Regions from separate parts of the Homo sapiens genome. Here regions 2, 3 and 4 are each linked to region 1. The links are contacts of gene promoters, found by promoter capture Hi-C in human tissues and cell types (Jung and others, 2019). All regions are on one chromosome and are shown on one strand. The core of a region is centred on a gene start or on the middle of the fragment in contact, and the rest is flanking DNA. Distances in the headings are between cores, read along the strand shown.

The links. Contacts are between HindIII fragments. The study calls those that stand out against the background at their distance.
Region 2: a fragment that was not itself captured here is called in contact with the fragment with the promoter of LOXHD1 in region 1 in 1 of the 25 tissues and cell types used here (dorsolateral prefrontal cortex).
Region 3: a fragment that was not itself captured here is called in contact with the fragment with the promoter of LOXHD1 in region 1 in 1 of the 25 tissues and cell types used here (dorsolateral prefrontal cortex).
Region 4: a fragment that was not itself captured here is called in contact with the fragment with the promoter of LOXHD1 in region 1 in 2 of the 25 tissues and cell types used here (H1 embryonic stem cells and lymphoblastoid cells).

What each region holds. Positions count from the first base shown.
Region 1 is chr18:46,655,781-46,658,718 of GRCh38, reverse strand. It overlaps LOXHD1 (lipoxygenase homology PLAT domains 1), which reads left to right and starts at 1,499. Exons shown (of 41, transcript NM_001384474.1): 1 at 1,499-1,815. The coding sequence starts at 1,686. RefSeq lists enhancers at 442-491, 302-1,251. The HindIII fragment of the contact is 5,571 bases long and covers 1-2,938 here.
Region 2 is chr18:46,211,979-46,214,916 of GRCh38, reverse strand. The region is part of intron 1 of ARK2N (arkadia (RNF111) N-terminal like PKA signaling regulator 2N); the gene reads right to left. Among named protein-coding and RNA genes, the nearest start is that of ARK2N, 39 kb to the right of the region's middle. The HindIII fragment of the contact is 5,322 bases long and covers 1-2,938 here.
Region 3 is chr18:46,302,593-46,305,530 of GRCh38, reverse strand. No RefSeq gene overlaps it. Among named protein-coding and RNA genes, the nearest start is that of ARK2C, 30 kb to the left of the region's middle. The HindIII fragment of the contact is 8,639 bases long and covers 1-2,938 here.
Region 4 is chr18:46,384,921-46,387,858 of GRCh38, reverse strand. All of the region lies in intron 1 of ARK2C (arkadia (RNF111) C-terminal like ring finger ubiquitin ligase 2C), which reads right to left. Among named protein-coding and RNA genes, the nearest start is that of ARK2C, 52 kb to the right of the region's middle. RefSeq lists an enhancer at 194-694. The HindIII fragment of the contact is 5,640 bases long and covers 1-2,938 here.

The sequences.
Region 1 (2,938 bases), core at 250-2,749:
GGAGGCTGAGGCAGGAGAATCACTTGAACCCGGGAGGCGGAGGTTGCAGTGAGCCGAGATCACACCACTGCACTCCAGCCTGGGCGACAGAGGGAGACTCCGTCTCAAAAAAAATTCTAAGAAACGTTTTATTATCTTTTCCCTGAATGGGTACTCGTGTAAAATGAGTTTTCTTAGTAGATTCCTAGAGATCCTTAAGGAAGGTCTCTTCCTGAAGAATCCAGGTGTGTAAACCACATATTGCCAGAAGGGGGCGCGCGCCACCCACCATTAAACTTCACTCCTGGTCCTCAGAGGACTTTGAGCTGCTTCAAGGGCGGCCCCTCAGCTGAATAGGGGAAGAGGGGAGGTTGATCTTTCCTGGGTAGGAACGTTCGGGGTTAGAGATGCCTCCCCCTAGTGGAAGATTTGGATGGCTCCAAAGAGCAGGGCAGGACCAAAGCTGCCCCAGGCTGCCGGGGAGGCCTGTGAGTGCCGACTGCTCCTCAGGCGTCCGCTCCAAATCCTCTCTTCCTCTCCACCTGAAATTCCCCTTTAGAGTCACTATTTTGGCTTAGAGGACAAAATCACACGTGTTGCTTCTAGAGGACTCCTGTTAGCACACCTAAGTTACCTGAGAAGCGATTCAGGGACCCTCAACATGGCTGCACATGAAAGTCACCAGGAGCTTTAAAAACTGGGGCCCAAGCTGCGTCCCAAACCAAGCAAATCAGAATCCTTGGGGATGGGACCCACGCATTAGCGTTCAACACCTCTCTGGGGGCTTCTGGTGTGCAGCCCGGGCTGTGCGCCCTGGGGTAGGAGCTTGCTGATGCCCTCCCGTGAGTCCAGGTGGTGAGCTGATCTAGTTAGTGAGTTCACCTGGGAGGGCATCGGCTACGATGATGTTTAAACTTTAGTGCATATAAAGCTCACCTGGCAGGGGGAGCGGGGAGAGTTTTCTGGTGCCCTAGCTTTCCTCGTGCCCAGAGGCCACTTCCGGAAGCCCGCAGTCTTGATGAGATGGAAGCAGAGAGAGAGAACGAGAAGGATCCAGCGAGAACCCCGCCTGCTCCGTAAGACGATCAGAGGTCATGAATAATGGAGAGAAACGGGGGCCTTTGAGTCCTGGGAGCCTGGCTGATTCCGGGGCCCCGCCTTCCTCAGGAGGGTCCCGTGTGGGCTGTAAGGCTTGGGAGATCTCCTGGGTGAGGAGCCCTCACCTGTCCCTGGGGTGGCCTGGAGGGATCCCAGGTGACCCCCTGGCTGTGAGGCCAGGTGGGAAATGGACTTCAAGGGCTCCGTGTCACCTGATTCTCCATAGGGAGGAGAGAGGGCTGGTGGGGAGGGGAGAGAGGAAGGAAGTCAGCCTGCCCTCAGCGCCATGAATAAGTGATGAGGCCCAAAGAGAAGCCCCGGGGCAGGTACAGAGGAGGAGGAGGTGGCTCACCAGAGGGTGGTGGGAGGGGACAGGGACAGGAGGTTCAGAGATAAGGCACTGAGGTTCAGCTCAGGAGCCAGAGAAGGCAGAGGGAACAGCACCTTGGGCACGGGGAAGCCAAGAAAACGGGGCACTCTGGCCCACCCAGGCCTGAGCTATAGGAGGGCCGTGGGCGCCAGAGCTCAGGGAGGAGGTCTCAGGTTCCCGCAGGTGTGAGGAGGCGGCACAGTGAGCCTGCGAGCGCTGGGAGAAGGCAGCCGACAGAATGATGCCCCAGAAGAAAAGGCGGAGGAAGAAGGACATCGACTTCCTGGCCCTGTACGAAGCGGAGCTGCTGAACTACGCCTCGGAGGACGACGAGGGGGAGCTGGAACACGAGTACTACAAGGCCAGAGGTGCGGGGTCCCAGCCTGCGGGGGGCGGGTGGTGCAGCTGGCTGCGGTGGGCAGGGGTCTGTTCCTGTCTATGGGGAGTCATTCTAAGATTTCGGAGCAAGCCCTTCCTCACTGATTATCCCATGTGTCTGTTCCATATCCCCTCGGAGTAAGAAGGCAGGCATTATGCAGGGATGGTGGGGTCCCTGTTGTACAGACAGGTGGAGCAACTTGCCTTTAGCCCCCGATTCTCAGTGGAACAGAATAGACTAGAGCCACAGTGCCCCCATGGCCCCATGTTCTCCAGCTCCTGAACATCCCCAAAGCCACGTTCCAGTCTGGTCCCCGAGTAGGTGGTCTGCATCAGGCAGAGCGCCCTGAACTGCTGGGGTCATGAAAGGATGTCTTGGGGAGGAAGCCTGACAGCTCATCCTATGCCCACTGTGGTTGATGGAGACAGGGAGCCTGGGGCTTTGCAAGGAGATGTCCATCCCATATGTCGAAGGCGGCCGGTGCTCTGGACCCCAGGGCCTTGTCCTTCTAGTCTCATCTTTCCCTGGGCCACATGAGACCTGCTTGAAATTGCTCTAACTCCTTGCCAGGTAAACCAAAGAAGTGAACTGTGACCCTAGAGCTGGTTTTGGCCAGCAGAGTTTAAGTTGTTTTTTTCCTTTCCAGCGTTTTGAAATCCTTTTTTCTGTGAATGCCAATAGGCTGTGGACGTCCAGCTTATCACAGTCTCCACCACTCCCTGTCATCTCATACTAGGTCTGGTTTACTCATCAGTGCTGCCTGCCTAGTCTCTGAAGCCATTTAAATTCTCAATGCTGACTCCAAAGTGGCTCACCAGTCCCCGTAAGCGCCATAGTCATCCATGCATTCACTCATTCATTCATTCAGCAAGTATTTATTGAATGTGTGCTCTGTGCCTGCCCATGGCCTTGTTTGTCTTCCCCTTTCTCCCTCTTCCTGTCCTCACTCTGAAAGCCCAGTTCTGATCCCATCTCTTCCATGAAGCCCTCCTTGATTCCAGTCCACCATGAGTTCCCTGATTACATCCAATTCATAATTGTTCCATTGTTTCCTGCAAAGCTTGTCCAGCTGTGTCCGGCTTGCAGCCACAGTCACCCTAAACTCCGTGAGG
Region 2 (2,938 bases), core at 247-2,746, 440 kb after region 1:
TAGTGAAGCATTAAGATGAAAAGCCAGAATTTGATGCTTCCTCAATCCTACCTAGCTCCCACATACCTCATCATGCTGAATTTGAGTCTAGTGTTTAAATAGATGTTTTATCCACAATGGTCACTAAATACAGAACCCAGAAAGCCTAGTATATTCTATGAATGAATAAAGGGATTTAAGAGAAAATACTCTACACCCATTGTACACTTTGTATGCTAAATTTAGAACCTAACACTCTACCACCACTGTGAGTGATACAACTCCAATTAACCATACAGGTACAGGACATAATATTTAACCTCAAAAGCTTATGACCTATATACAGTTAAGTCCTTACTTAACATTGTCAACAGGTTCTTGGAAACTGAGACTTTAAGTGAAATGACATTTAACAAAACCAATTTTTCTCATTAACCTTATAACTAAAGGACATCATTCAAAGACCAGCAGTATCTTGTTCCATTTAAAGTCGCAGTTTCCAAGAACCTATTGAAAATCTGGTGGTTTTTAAAGAGGATGCTAAATATGGAAAACAAGTAAATACCTTGCCCTGTATGTGTTACATTACAGAAAGCAACTATCATGTCCATAGGTCACAGACACACATAACCATTATTCTATACGGTATGCTAGGTGCAATATGGCATCTCCATCATCTCACTCCATCAAGTTACCTAGATAGTTCAATCTATAGCAGACAAAAACTAGGAAATATTTGCAAAATCCTTTAAAACAGATCTAACATGCCAAGCCCACTTTTTGCTTAATACAAACATAAATATTCTATATGCCTGTTGTTTTTCATAGCCCTGTTCTCAGCTGTTGATAAAACAGGCATTCTGATTAAGTTTCCTTAACACATTCATGGAAACCAGAACATTCATGGCCACTGAAACATCTGTTAATTTAAAACAATCCTAGGCCAGGAGTGGTGGCTCACACCTGTTATCCCAGCACTTTAGGAGGTGGAGGCAAGTGGATCACCTGAGGTTGGAAGTTCGAGACCAGTCTGGCCAACATGGTGAAACCCCGTCTCTACTAAAAATACAAAAATTGGCCAGGCATGGTGGCGAGCGCCTGTAGTCCCAGCTACTCGGGAGGCTGAGGCAAAAGAACTGCTTGAACCTGGGAGGCGGAGGTTGCAGTGAGCCAAGATCACGCCACTGCGTTCCAGCCTGGGTGACAGAGCAAGACTCCATCTCAAAAAAATAAATAAAATAAATAAAAAATAAATAAAACAATCTTGTGTGTAGCCTACTTCACAAGCATATTTGTATCAATTATAATACTAATGTTGGAGGCTAAGTGAAAATCAGCATAAATATTTTTTCTGACACCATTACAAAAAAATGTAACACCTCTGAAAGCCAACAGAGGGAGTAACAGTTAAACCAACGGAGACCGTTATAAATAAAGCATGCTGTCAATACAAACACGAAATAAAATATTCACAGATACAAAATACCCCCAGGTATGAGGAATAAACCCAAGTTCTTTTTTTTAAGCCAGTCAAATTTAGCAGTGGGGGGGACAAAGATTTTCTAACTGAATAAAAATGAGAGTTAATTCTATTATGGAGATTCAAATTGTATATTCTGGAATAATGATTCTTCTTAAGGCTGGGCACGGTGGCTCACGTTTGTATTCCCAGCACTTTGGGAGGCCGAGGCAGGTGGATCACGAGATCAGGAGTTCAAGACCAGCCTGGCCGAGATGGTCAAAGCCCATCTCTACTAAAAATACAAAAATTAGCCAGGCGTGGTGGCAGGCACCTGTAATCTCAGCTACTTAGGAGGCTGAAGCAGGAGAATCACTTGAACCCGGGAGGTGGAGCTTGCAGTGAGCCGAGGTCCCGCCACTGCACTCCAGCCTGGGCGACAGAGTGAGACTTAGTCTCCAAAAAAAAAAAAAAAAAAAAAAAAAAAATTCTTCTTAAAGCTAAAATATCTGAGAAAATATACTCAGATGGAATTAATGTCAGCTATATAGGACAAGCATCAAAAGTCTCAATTTGTGAAAGAAGGCAGCACTGGATATTTTCAAAGTACATAATACAGCATCAGACTAAAAAGTAAATTTGTTAAAATGACCATACAACGCTTGTTTCTTCAAGAAATAAGTTGTGTGGATAAAACAGGTAAATCTAGATTGTTTTTCCCTGTTAAAAAAAAATGACAATATGGCACATCATTCAATTTAATGATTATCTTTCAAGTTCCTTAAATTTGAGTGTTAACTGAGATTTAATTTATACTACCTAAATTAGTAACCGGTATTGCAGTCAAAACCACTTAAATATGCTCAAATCAATCACAAAAGACTAGTATTGACCACAAACAGGACAAAAGTTAGCTCATCATGGTATGTTCATACAATGTGGCCATTAAAAAAATGAGAAAGCACTTTATATAGAGAGGTAAGAAACAGTTCTCACGCAATTTTAATGAAAAAAGATACATTATAGCATTTATGTAAATAAATAACAAAACTATATTTACATGAGTTTATCTGTAGATGCATAGACTCTGGAAAGATACTTAAGAAAATAGTAATACCAGTTGAGAAGGAAAGCAGGTGAATAAGGGAACAGGAGAAGACAGTGTGGTATGCAGTTTTGTATCTCTTGAATTTGTGATGTATACAAACATTATCTATTCAAAAATCCACTCTGACATAAAAGTCTTCTGAAGAAAAAGAAGTTGTGCTTTTCTGGGGCCATAACACTAGACTACTCTTTGGGTCAAGCTTAGTCAATAAATTCTACTATGCTTTCTTCCTATAGTGGAATTTTGCTATAATTAATTAAATACAGGAGAAAAAAGTCACAGAAAGTGAAAATATAAGCTCTGACTAAACTCCCTTCAGTGGAATAAAAACGAAGTGCCCTAACCACAGGGGGAAATGATGTCATACATAAAGATTAATCTTTCCATACAAC
Region 3 (2,938 bases), core at 240-2,739, 350 kb after region 1:
GTCGGGCCACTGGTGGTAAGTATATGACTGTATGCACTGGCCAAAACCCTTAAAACGATACACCACAAAGAGTAAATGCTTATATGTAAAAGTTTTTTAAATTAAATGTTTCCTTCTAGCCTTTCCCATTGTAAATTTCCTCAAAATGGAGACTGTAATTGACATTCTCTGAGCAGCCCAGCTCCAGAGCTCTAGCTTTGGGGAAAACAGGAGGTAATTTAGAAGAGCAAGGCTGGAAAATGGGTGGAGAAAGGAGGAAACCACTAGAAATGGAAATGCAAATCCCATCATTTCCCATCATTGCTAACTTTTCCTGCAGCCTTGGCACCAGGCATGGCCCAGGTTGAAATACGGGAGAAAACGGAATTTCCCTTTGGATGCCTTCTCTCTTTTCCTGTCTTTCCCTTCCAGGGACCTTCTGCCTCCATCAGGGAATCCATACAGGGGCCCCAGGTGCTTCTATCTCAGGGATTTTCATATTAAAAGATACTGCAGGATATGACAGATCTTATCTGCATCCATGAAGGAATTTTGGACCTTAGTTCAAAAGTGTGATGAGCATGATGAGTATGATGGGGAAAGGGGAGGGAGGAACACTGTGTAATACCCAAAATTCCACCCTAAATTTGAGGCATCGTTTCCGGCATTGCCTCCTGCCCCCATCCCCGGGGAGAGGAAGTGCTGTAATCAGGTCTAGGCATAAGCCAGTTTATTAGATCCTCTTAAAAGTAATAATAGGGGAGGTGGCCAGGCACAATGGCTCACGCCTGTAATCCCAACACTTTGGGAGGCCAAGGCAGTTAGATTGCTTGAGTTCAGGAGTTCGAGACCAGCCTAGCCAACATGGCAAAACCCTATCTCTACCAAAAATACAAAAATTAGCTGGGCATGGTGGCAAGCACCTGTAGTCCCAGTTATTTAGGAGGCTGAGGCGGGAGGATTGCTTGAGCCCAGGAGGCAGAGGTTGCAGTGGGCTGAGATTTTGCTACTGCACTCCAGCCTGGGTGACAGAGATCCTGTCTCAAAAAAAAAAAAAAAAAGAAAAAAGAAAGAAAGAAAGGGGAGGTTACAGGCCTCTGACTTCACCACCTTCCGCTGCTCCTTCCCCTGACCCCTGCTTTCATTTGGCTCCTGGGCAGACCTGCGGACCTACTTCCCACAGCTTCTCCAGTCCTGGGCCAGAGCCTGGCCAGATGCCCCTAAAACATAGTGGATTAGGCTCTTTCTCTGCCACACAAGAGCAATCCTCAGATCCTCAGCTGCTTAGACAGCTGCCCCCTCCCCACAGCTGGAGCAAGGTGTGAATCTGGGGCTCAGCACTCTGGGAGAGATGCTTGCAGGCCTGGAGCCCTACCTCCTCCCTGGGCAAGGCTGAAACCCGGGCCAGGAGGTGGGAGGTAGCGGGTGACCTCTGTTGCAACTGAATAATGCAATTCCAGAGAGAGTCCCTGGGAGGGACAGAGCATCCAGGGAGGGTGTCTTTAAAGGCCCCCCTGCCCACTGGGTTTGTTTTCCAGGGCTGCCGTAACAAATCACCACAAACTTGATGTTTAAAACAACAAAAAGTTATCCTCTCACAATTCTGGAAGACAGAAGTCCAGAATCAGGATGTCAGCAGGACTGGACTTCCTCCAAAGGATCTAGGAGAGAATCCTTCCCATCTCTTCCAGCTCGTGGTGGCTCCAGGCTTCCTTGGCTTGTGGCCACAGCACTCCAGTGCCTGCCTCCATCTTCCCCTGGCTTCTCTGTGCCCTGGGTTTTCTCTCCTCTTCTGTTTCCATAAAGACACTTGTCATTGGATTTAGGGACCACCTAGGTAATCCAGGATGACTCATCTCAAGATGCTTAATTTAATTACATCTGGAAAGACCCTTTTTTCAGATAAGGTCACATTCACAGGTTCTGAGGGCTAGGACATGTGCATGTCTTCTGGGGGGCCCTCATTCACCCCACTACACTCATCAACTCCCAGAGGCACCTCACACCCTCTCTGCCTTCATTTCCCATAGCTCCTCTGAGGCGGGTCACCTTTCCTCTCATTTTGCTGGGGAGAGGCCTGGTTTATACCTGTGCCTCACTGTAGTTATCAATAATGTCTCTTTTCACTCTCAGAAGTTGAAAGCAAATTCCACGGTGACCCTGTGCAAGGGTCAGACTCCTCCTAGCCACCTTCACAGGCAGTGTCTCACACCATCCTCCCTTTCCGGGAGTGGTAGCAAGGCAAGTCTTGCTCCATTTTGCAGCCGGAGATGCCGAGACTCCCAGGTTAAGGACCTGCTCAAGGTCATGTAGCTGGTGGCAGAGACATGACTGGAGGCTGGAAGGAAGGGCTCCTGACTTGGTGCGCTGTATGAAAGACACTTGCTCTCATGATGAGCACCCTTGAGCCAGCTGATGCCATCAGTCAGGGACCGCTGGAAAGACACCTGCAGCCAACCAGAGCTACATCTATTGATGCAGCTGTGACGGGGGAGACCACACCCCTGGGGAGCTATGGCGCATCCCGGTTGGAGGGTTGTGTTAGAAGGAAGTTGCAGGGTTTGTGTTTCTTTGGTGACTTTGGGAAGGGTTCGGAGAAGTGGGGATTTCCTCTCCACTGGTTGCAGTCAGGGAGCAGGAGAATTCTATGATCGAGGACATTAGAGTATCTTTAGGATTCTGACCTAGAAGCGGAGGAATGAAGCAGTGCTAACGCTGTATTGGGTAAAGAAGCCGTAGCCCCTCCCATCGGCTGGGGGAGGCAGATGTTGGTTTATTTCTGTGGTTCAGCTAGTATTCTTGTTTTTGTCTGTGCTCGTGTGGAGGGGTCTTATTTCTGTCGTGGTCTGTCACGGTCACAAAGCAGCCTTGTTTGACATTGTTGTTCTTTGTCATTGTTTCTGTTCAAGGAGGAGGGCCGGCCAGCTCAGCCTCTCAGAGGCTGCCTTTCTCTTTTGCA
Region 4 (2,938 bases), core at 288-2,787, 270 kb after region 1:
TGGCTGTCCCTGTAACTAAATAACCCCTAAGGTCAGCTTCTGCTTCAAGAGGCTGCTTTGGGTGCACACAGATCCCTGAGCTGACCCTGGGATTTCAGCAGTCCTCGATGATGAAGACTAGAAGCTTCTCCCGTCCCAGCGTTTGACTTCCAAACTGAAGCTATCTGTGGTTTCTGGTCTGTTCCCATTCAGGGGCCCTTGCACCCTCCACGGGTCTGTATGCCCAGCTCTGGACTTCTTCCAAGTGGGGAATGTTTTTCTTGCTTCATGCCCTCCAGAGCTACACCCAGGTGGTGCCGGGAAGCACAGGGACTTCCACATTTTGCACAGCCTGGAGGGGAATTTGGCACTAAAGTTGGGACAAGTTTCTCCCCTAGTCCTGGAATATTGCAAGTTCTGTACACATTTCTTGTCCTCAGAGCTAATGCTGTTTTTGTACTGGATTCACTCCCAAAGGCCTGCACTGTCCAAAGGAAAAGCTGCTTTCCTTACTTCAGAGTGGTTCCCCAAGCTCTGCACTGGAATCATGGAGGATGGGGGCTTGTTTCAATGCAGATCCCCAACCCCCTCACCCACTTGCTGAATGGGACTCTCTGGAGGTGGGGCCTGGTTATCTGCCTTTTTTTATGCATGCCTCAGCTGGACGTTGAAGTTTGAGAACAAGCCATGAAGAAACTTGTCTGCTAAGCTGGACAGACTGTAGCCCTCTGTTGACAAGCTATGTCAGAGTGTCACTGCTGTGAGACCACCAAAAATCACTGCTTCCCTGGCCTGGCGCACTCTCCTCAGCCTCTTTACCCAGCCTGTCTACTGCCCCTCAGAACTGTGTGAGGAATGAATTAGAAGAGAATGTTGGCCAAGTGCCTGGTTCAGCAGCGGCACGCAGCAGTGCCCAGGAATGTCAGTGTCCCCCGCCAAAAGGAGTAGCTGCTCCTCCGCCACCCAAACACTGCCCATGATGCCAAAGGTACTAGAAATCAGAAAGTGGGGGACTCCCAAAATGGCCTAAATCCTGTCTGCTGTGGGAAGAAGGAAGGAGGAAGTGATGAGAAGTGAAAACAAAATGTTCCTCTGAGAGCCGCATGTCCAGCTCCCCAGTTCTTCCTACCTATAAAGACAGCACCATGTCCCAGAAAGAGAATCTCCACTGAAAGGACAGCTGCCAGGGACAGGGAAAAGATCCTGTTTTGTTCACTACTCTATAGCTATCTACATGGTTGGAATGAAATGAGCACTTAATAATTATCTGCCGGATGGAATGATGGATGGATGGGTGGATGGGTGGGTGAATGGATGGATGGATGGATGGATTGATGGGGGGTCAAGACATAAGATAGCTTAGCAAAAGACCTGGATTCTAGTTCTGGCCCCAGTCCTTACCAGGCCTTAGGGAAAAAAAAATTGATATTAACCCCTCTGCCTCTGCTTCCTATAAAACAATGAAGTTTACACCTGCCCCAGCTCCACCATAAGGGGAGCTTGTGTCTCAAATGAAATGACTATATATTTGATGGTACCTGGTAAGCCATCAGATTTGTACAAATGTCAGAGATGAAGGCAACGATGACAATGCTGATGATTAAAGAGTAGAAGGGTGTCGGACAGTCTACAGATCTTTGTATGTGCAGAGAAGGCTTTCATTCAGCTCCCTCGCCAGTGTAAGAAATGAGGCAGCCAGAGGAAGAGAAACCCTGGCATGTAGGTAGCTAACAGCATTTCCCTGAGAACATGGCCCCTGGACAGATGGGCCTTGGCATTTGCTTCTAAGGCCTCACAAAACTGAGGGTGAACCCCAATACTTTATTTTTGGCAAAACAGCTGAGAAAGAGGCCCAGATGGTTGGAAGCAACTCCCTTCCGGAGACAAGGGGTTCTTGGGGCCAGAGCATCAGAACCACCACACACCGCCATGAGGTCATCTAGCCCCATCCCCTTATTTTATGAAGACAGCATTACAGTCTTCTTGGCATGTATTAGTAAAAGCAACTCTTCCAGCCCCAGATACCTCACCAGGCTCAGCTGAAACACTTATCACTTACAGAGGGGGCAAAAATCTCTTTTCCAATATAAAGGCAAACACTGATTTTTTAATTAACTGCCTCGAGGGGGTCCTGCCAAAAGTGCAGGCTTGGAGCAAGAGGCTGGGGAGGGGCACAGAAGCTCTGGGAAGAGCTGGTGAGGGCTCAGTTCATGCTCCAAAGGGGGACAGCTGACACTTCTAGATCAGGGGCTGTGGGGCTTGTATTAAGATTTTCTGTCTGTGCATTTCAAAGTAAGTTTTGTTCCTGCTTCTACCTATCAGCAGACAGGAGCAGAATCTGGGGGATTTGGAGCTCCAGAGCCTGTTCTCTGTCCACTAGAGTCAGTAGAGCCACGCTAGAAAAGCTCCTGGGTTTCAACCTGGACATCCTTGTGCAACACCTTCCTCTTCAGAATCCCTCCCTGCACACATATGCACACGCACACTCACACACACATGCACAGGCACATGCAAGTCCTTCCTTCCAGACAAAACAATCTGTTATCAGTCATTTACACCCACTTGTCCTCACAAGCCACCACTTTCATCTCCCAGGAGAGCTCTCATCTCTGTGCAATTAGATTTGAGGCCCAGGAAGCAACCCTGTAATTGGTGAGGCAGGACAAGATTCCCCTGGCCCATGACATCACACCACCCAACCAAACATATTCTCTAACCCAACAGACAAGAGCTGGCACCAGTGTGGTAAGCAGGATCTCTGAGAATATACGCCAGAGTTGGCTGGACCATCTCCCATGGAGATGTCAAAAGGTTTGCCAACTGAAAGGGAGCCCTGCACACCACTCTGGAAATCTTTGAGGGGGAGGGAACAGAGATACTGTCTACGGGCACAAAGGTGACCATCAAGAAGTGAGTGGAGCTGAACCAGCTGTGTGTGTGCCCTGGCTCTGGGCTGTAT